Regions from separate parts of the Homo sapiens genome. Here region 1 is linked to region 2. Evidence: promoter capture Hi-C in 16 types of primary human blood cells and fetal thymus (Javierre and others, 2016). All regions are on one chromosome and are shown on one strand. Each heading gives the region's core, a stretch centred on a gene start or on the middle of the fragment in contact. The rest is flanking DNA. Distances are from core to core; before and after follow the strand shown. Region 1 overlaps PDS5B (PDS5 cohesin associated factor B). Region 2 holds the start of STARD13 (StAR related lipid transfer domain containing 13).

Region 1 (3,671 bases), core at 36-2,535, 640 kb before region 2:
TTTCCGTTAACATTTGTCTCCCAAAACATCACTGTCCTGACTTTTACTGTCATAGATTAGGTTTCTCTGTTTTCGAGCTTATAAATGTAATCATACTCTTATGTAGTGTTTTGTGTCTGGCTTCTTTCACTTTGATGTGTGTGTGTGGGTGTGTGGGTGTGTGGTGTGTGGTGTGTGGTGTGTGTTGAGACAAGGTCCACTCTGTCATTCAGGCTTGAGTGCAGTGGTGTGATCATGGCTTGCTGTGGCTTTGACTTCCTGGGCTTAAGCAGGACTTCCACCTCAGCTTCCCGGGTAGCTGGGACCACAGGTGCACACCACTATGCTTGGCTAATTTATTTTTATTTTTTGTAGAGATGAGGTCTCACTGTATTGCCCAGGCTGGTCTTGAACTCCTGGGCTCAAGTGATCCACCTGCCTTAGCCTTCCCAGATGCTGGGATTACAGATGTGAACCATCATGCCCATCCAGATGTTTGTAATGTTAATCCATATTATTGTGTGAGGCAATGATTTATTCTCTCATGGCTGTGTTTTTTTTTTTTTTTTTTTTTTTGCCCCCATTGTATGACTATACTACAAATTGCTATTCATTCTAGTGTTGATGGTCATTTGTGTTTTCTGTTTTGGCAACTGAATGGTATTGCTGTGAACATTTTTTTATATGTCTTACGGTGGACAAACTATACGTTTCTATTGAGTAAATACCACAGAGTGAATCTGGGGCCTATTTATCTTTTTTTTTTTTAACTTGATATTTAGCTTAACGGGTTTTAGTGTTTGCATGACATAATTTTCCATCCTTTTACTTTCAGCATGTATCCACTTTTTTCATTGTCTTTTAAGGTGTTTATGTTGAAATTTAAAAATCTTTTCTTTTAACCTGATTGTGTATATTACATACACATATAGTACTTAGTATGTGCTAAGCAATGTTGTAGGTACTTTATATATAAATACTTACACCTCTTAGTTTTCATTTGGCTAATTTGCCCTTATTTTACTCTGCACTTAAAAATTATACTCCTTGGTTGTAAACTTCTAGATTTGCAGTTATATTCTTTCTCTGCTTTGAAGATAACATTTTGCTGTCTTCTGGCTTATGTTGTTGCTGTTGAGAAGTCACCTGTTAGTTTAAATGCTATTCCTTTCAAGGTACTGTGTGTGCTCTAAATTTTGTTTGTTTTCTGGAATTATTATTATTTTAAATTTAACCCTGTTTGGCTTACTGAATTTGTAGGTTGGTATTTTATGATATTCTCTGTAGGTATTTGGCCTCTGCTTCAATCTAGTCCTTCTGGTACTCTCATGAATCCCATGAGTGAATCTCTCATTCTTCTCTCTCTATAACTTCCATGAATTGTAGGCTACATTTAGGCCTTTCTATCCTTATGTATTTCAGGTGTATGTTTCACTGTGTTGCACTCCGGATAATTTCTTATGACCTTTCTTTCACTTCATTCTTTCTTTTTTGAGACAGGTGGAATGCAGTGGCGCAATCTCAGCTCACTGCAACCTCTACCTCCTGGGTTCAAGCAGCTCCCCTACTGCAGCCTCCCGAGTATCTGGGACTACAGGGGTGTGCCACCACACCTGGCTGATTTTTGTATTTTTTGTAGAGATGGGATTTTGGTATGTTGCCCAGGCTGTTCTTAAACTTTGGAGCTCAAAGTTTAAGCTCAAAAGGCCTGCCTTGGCCTCCCAAATGTGCTGGGATTACAGGCGTGAGCAATCCCACCTGGCCTTTAATGGTTTTTCGTATCTGCGAATACATTGACCTGTTGAATTTTCAATTTCAGTAATTGTATTTTTTCATTTTTAGAAGTTCTATTTAAAAAAAATCTTCTAGTTTAGTCTTTATAATTTTTTTTGTTTCCTGTAGATATTTTTGGAATTGTCTTTTATTTCTTTAAGATTATAGTAGTTTTACAGTCTTTGATAGACACAAAAATTGTGTCTGTTTTTGTTGTGTGGTATTTCTGCTGGTTCTCCCTCATAGTTGCTTGGTTATTTTTGACTTGATACTTGCTCATTGTTCTAGAAACATCATAGTGGGGATTCTTTGATACTTAGGATGAAGGCACCCTTCTCTAGGCAGGACTTGGATTTACTTATGTTAGGTGCTTGGGGCTGTTATTAACCAGGGGTCTGTGAGTTCATGTTTTGAGATTCTCTGGGCCACTTAGGTCATGTCAGCCCCAGCAAGTGTGCAGGCCCATGGCCAAAACTAATTACCTGTTCCTTCCCTGTATTCATGTTGCCTTTCTCTGTTTAGCACCAAGGCAGCCTTCTCAGCGGTTCCCTCTAGGGGGTGGGGCTGGGGAAAAGAGGTGTTCATTTCTAGTTTACCCTCTCCTTTGCAGGTATATCTTCTTTGGGTAGGGTGGTGGCCTACATTAATGTCAGGAGAGTTTCCTATTTGACTGTCTGCCTTGATATGTTCAGATTTACTTCTGTTCCCCTTGCCCTATAAGACCATCAAAACTGAATCCCACATTTGTCAGAAATGAAAAATGCTTTCAGAGTATAAGTAGCTATAATGTCCCAGTGTTCCCACTTACTTCCCTGGATTCCTATTTTCTCTTAGGTTTTAGTTTGAGTACTTTGTGGTGCTTTTAAAAAGTATTTATTTTTTATTTTTCTCTAGCTTACTATTATTATTATTATTTTTAGTTGGAGGGTTAGGACAAATAACAAAGCTTGCCACTGAGGAAATGAAAGTAAAAATAAGTTTTGTTTTTCTAAAAATAATTTGGGGAAATGTTCAATAGAGTGATTTTCATTAAATGGTAAAGTAAATTACTATAAATTAGGAGGTAGTTACAAATTTTGGTTGGTGGGGAAGGTTACCATTTATGTTTGTTAAGAATGTTTATATCTATTTTTTGGTTTGCATCTAATAGTTTTCTTGTTTCAGGGGTAGAAATATTTCTGTCATGGCTCATTCAAAGACTAGGACCAATGATGGAAAAATTACATATCCGCCTGGGGTCAAGGAAATATCAGATAAAATATCTAAAGAGGAGATGGTGAGACGATTAAAGGTGAGTAAAATTCTATTCTTTTTTACATCTGTGTAGGGCAGAGGTCCCCTGTGGAAATCACATGGGGCTATAATGTATCTTGTTGGGGTAACTTAAAAAAGCAAAGCAAAGCAGCAAATGGCATAGAAAAGATCTAAGGGAGTAGAGTATATAAGGTACAGTGGGGATTATTTGGCTATGATTAAAGGGACAGCAATTAGGTGAAGCTTAGATTTTCTAGGATCTCCTATACTTGGGTATAAAGAACAAGTCTACAATACTCATATTCCTTATTGTCTATACAAAGTTGTCTCCTTTCTTCTATATAGTTTCTAAAGACAACCACTTTAAGGGAGTTTTAGGTCTTTATACTGAGTAATTAGGCTGTGTACTACTTTCTTGTAAGTTATTTTCAAAGTAGGTCAAAGGGCTTCACTTTAAGCTTCTTCCTCTGCTTCTGACATGTAGTAATGAATCAAGATTGCTGGTGAACTTCTATGGATGAGGCTAGGGCCTCTTCATATGTGTTTGAATAATATTTTCACCTTTTCCTTTAGGGTGGTGGTGATCTCTGTAATTGTTAAAATGGATAAAGAAGCATAGTGTTCAAGGAGAATGTTAAGCTGGTCTATTAGTTAGTTTAGATGGT
Region 2 (3,975 bases), core at 872-3,371:
TCCCTGTGATCTTAACTGTCAGTTTTAAGTGTTAGGCATTCATTGACTTCAAACACTCCATTGCCCAGTATAAAAAAGAGGGAATTCTCAAATTACCTAATTAGACAAAAATGAAACATAAACTGAGGGTGCCCATATGTCTGTGTGACAGGGCACGTTCAGTGATAGTGCATGTGTTCACAACTTCAAATCTTGAATGGAAAAATAACCCTCATTCCAAAAAGAACATAAATAATATTTAAATAAAATAAATTATTGTAAATACATCTAAGGAGGTCTGCAAAGCAATTTCAGCTAGTTCTCTGCAATATTTCTCATATGATATGCATGCTGAGGAACATTTATATCTTGTAGATGATAGCGCATCATTAAGCCTCGGTGTTCATAAAGATGATGGCATTTGGAAAGGCACCATTGTCAGAAATTTCTAAAACCAAAGTGGAGCTGGTTTTTATTCTAAGCCTAAAGTATTTTTAAATCTAGCCACAGGGAAATAATTACTTTTGTTTCTATTCAATCAAGACCTGGACACAGAGTTTATGCAATGACATAATATCCTTCCTGAAATCAGACCAGCATGTAGGAAGGACCAGCATCCTTCACACATAACTAGTTCCTGAACCTTTACAAACAAATCCTAATTTCCAAGGAAACAATCTCATCAAATGCTGCCCGCTAGAATACATATTGTTCTTTCTGGAAACATTACAATAAGATTTTCATGATTACAAACCCCAACTTCCTCTTTAATATTCAATATAATCTTAAACTCATTTATTTAAGTGGAAACTGTATTTTTATAATGGCTCTAAAAATTCCTGGTTAACTTATTTAGCACCAATATAATAATTTCTTTTTTTGTTGTGTAGGAGGAGGGTGATCATTAACTGACTGTCAACGTGTGTTAGGGGCTTCTTAGGAACGGCTCTAAAAATTCCTGGTTAACTTATTTAGCACCAATATAATAATTTCTTTTTTGTAGTCTAGGAGGAGGGTGATCATTAACTGACTGTAAACGTGTGTGTTAGGGGCTTCTTAGGAATGTTCGTCTTTCTGCTTTCTACTGATATACCCTATAAGGAGCATGTTTTAAATTTTTTTTTTTTTTGAGACTGGTAAATTTTAGTAATGTCCAGACTTCCAGGCTGGTATTTTGAGGGGCTGGGAATAAAAAGAATATCAAGCAGCTTATAATCAATATTCTCTTCTCTTTGCATTAGGAAGCTGGAGTTTTGTGTGCAGGTTACGGGATTTGTTTTGAGATGAACGAACACCTTAATTCTCTACCAGGAAAACAATATTAACACATCTGTGGCAACTGCTGACATAAACATACAAACAGGAAGAGAATGCGATTCTAGTGCTTAGCCTGGTGGCCTTTAGAACAGAATTCTTGCTTTCCTCCTCTTCACTAAGGATATTCGAAATACTCTGGGCAGGGTGGACATTAGTCCCTCGCCTCCTCCCTAATGAAATAAACAAGTGTCCACATTTTAAATGTGACGGAGTGTGAGGAAACTGCAGAAAAGCTCCTAAGATACACACTGAGTAACAGTTCTCATCTGTTCTGTAGACACACGTCAGTTTGGGAATTTATGATTCACTGTCCCACCGTGAAGTTTTTTGTGCACTTTATGTTGAGCTATGTGGCAGCTAAGGACTGTCCTGTTTGCTGAAAACTGCAGCCTAAAGTTATTTTTCAAAGTTACGGGTAGTGTGGCATAGAAATCCATATGTTATAAAGTGGAAACAAACAAACAAAAAAAACTGGGTTAGCATGAAATAGAGCCAACAGAAATCAGAATGAGCAACAGCCTTCCACTGCCGGCCACTCACCTTGTTGAATTTTAGTCACTAGCTGATGGCGTGCTAGAATCCGGCTCATCCTGTAAGGAGAGCGTCTTGTAGTCTGATCAAATCGCAAGTACATCTCCTGGCCCTCAGGTGTCATGGAATTTAGGTAGTAGCAGCCTGAGGCTGGGGTCCTGGGCACCTGACTGAACATCTCGGCAGATTTCCTATTGCCACCTCAGTCTGCCTGTGGCTGTTGCCGTCTGTCTCCAGTCTCAGTCAAAGAGCAAGGCACCCAGCCCAGGACAGCTCAACAGACCCAGCGATTTTTAAAAAGAAAGAGGAGTGCCAAAGCCACAACTCAGAATTCCAACCCCCGGGGCCCTCACGTGACCTCGGGAACCAATGAGAGGAAGAGAGGAAAATGGGAACGTTTGCAGTCAGCCCTAAGCCCCGACCAGAGGCAGTTCCAGCCGCCAGGGTCCCTCACACAACGCTGAAAGCAAAATACACGTATTTGACGTGCCTCAGAGCTGACGAAGCACCCAAAAGCAGCCCTCACTAAAGGAGTCGAAAGAAAAAGAGAGAGGGAAGGGCAAAACAAGTAGAAGACAAACAAGTCCAGGGCTCAGGAAACTTTTCAGCCTGTCAAAGTTAGAGAAAGCTCCTTCGCTTTCTACAGGGCAGCAGCAGCCAGGTAAAAGATGGACCTGATAAATCTCTTAAATTTAAAAAACACAACACAACAAAAAAAAACTACTTCAAACAAGCATCAACAGCTGAGCGTAAGCCACCACCTTCATTATCAAGAAACAACTCAAATAAAAACTTTTCCAGTGAAAAATAAACTTCAAGGGCTTTAACACCAGGAGTGAATACACCACAGATCCTGACCCTCACGTGATGGGAATTGGAGGGCTCTTACAGATAAGACTCAGAGAGGCAAAGTACACACGCGTTACGTATTAAGCATCCTTTCCTCTTTGATTTCTCTACTTCCCCAATTTTTAATCACCTAGAGGTAAAATACTTAGAAGGTGCCTATCACATTTAAGACACTGAATCATTTAAGACAAGAATCACTGCAGAAGTTGCAAAGGTACTTCAAAGATACTGTCATCAACCTGCTAAGGACCCATTGAGAAGTTATACAAAAGCTTCTAACATGAGGCCATATATATGTCTCAAAAAGGACGCAAACACAATGCTAGGTGAGCAATATTATTTTTGACTGGGGTGATGATTGCAAGCCAGATAGAGAAAGAGACATTTGGATAGGCTTTTTAAAATGGGGGGAATTCTGATAGGCAGAGGCTGGGGAGGGCTTTGCAAGAGACTGTAGGTACCCATGTGTGCAGATCCAGAACCAGAGTATATGGTTTAAGCAAACTGCTAGTAATTCAGTTTGGCCATATCTGAGTGTGTGTGTATATATATACGTGTATATATATATGTGTGTATATATATGTGTATATATGTGTGTATATATATACATACACACACTGAGTGACATATATGTATATGTCATTATAATTTTCCCTGTTTTTCTTCTTTAACATTGTTTGATGTGAAGAGAAAAAGTCCACAGAAAACATGTTATCAAATTCTGAGCCTGGGGCTGAAAGAATAAAGTTCTTTGATACAAAAAGTATATGACCAAGTTGCTTCTACATTTGGCTGACGGAAACATAGCCTGGCTGGGAATTTATAGTCTAATAATGAGAAATTATTTCTACATTATTTCCAAATTAAAAGTTTAACAGGATTTAAATTAGGACTTTGATTCTTCTTACTCTGGCTCTCCGAGGCCCATAAGCCTTAACAACTTTCCCTGAGGGAATTGTTGCTAGCCTGATTCTGAGAAGCAGCTCGTCTTGTATAACTGTCCCGCTATGAGAATAAACAAGTTAAGCACGATCTCTGCAGCCCAGCATGTGACAATTGCCTACTACCTCACGTAGTTGGTAATTGTCAGCCTCTTCGGGTGGTTACACAAGAGTCATCATGTCTTTGTTTTCAGGTTGGCTTCATGGCAGGAAGGGAAAGAAAGATCTATGGGGCCATACTGTGCACTTTCCATTCTTATTTAGGATTTGAGCAGCAGTTTTTCTGTTCCATAGCATCGTCTGTGGAAGGTGAAAGGGATCTGAGACCTAAGGAACTGCTCGGCAGAAGCTCGAATGG

What was found. The method cuts DNA at HindIII sites, captures the fragments that hold promoters and counts their contacts. A CHiCAGO score of 5 or more calls a contact.
Region 1: a contact is called between a fragment that was not itself captured here and the fragment with the promoter of STARD13 in region 2, in 1 of 17 cell types (endothelial precursors). The highest score is 5.0, in endothelial precursors.

The regions. Positions count from the first base shown.
Region 1 is chr13:32,645,838-32,649,508 of GRCh38, forward strand. It overlaps PDS5B (PDS5 cohesin associated factor B), which reads left to right. Exons shown (of 35, transcript NM_015032.4): 2 at 2,917-3,043. The coding sequence starts at 2,936. Among named protein-coding and RNA genes, the nearest start is that of PDS5B, 61 kb to the left of the region's middle. RefSeq lists an enhancer at 334-443. The HindIII fragment of the contact is 2,822 bases long and covers 1-2,696 here.
Region 2 is chr13:33,283,634-33,287,608 of GRCh38, forward strand. It overlaps STARD13 (StAR related lipid transfer domain containing 13), which reads right to left and starts at 2,122. Exons shown (of 14, transcript NM_178006.4): 1 at 1,837-2,122. The coding sequence starts at 2,005. RefSeq lists enhancers at 2,225-2,284, 2,295-2,424. The HindIII fragment of the contact is 3,531 bases long and covers 1-2,946 here.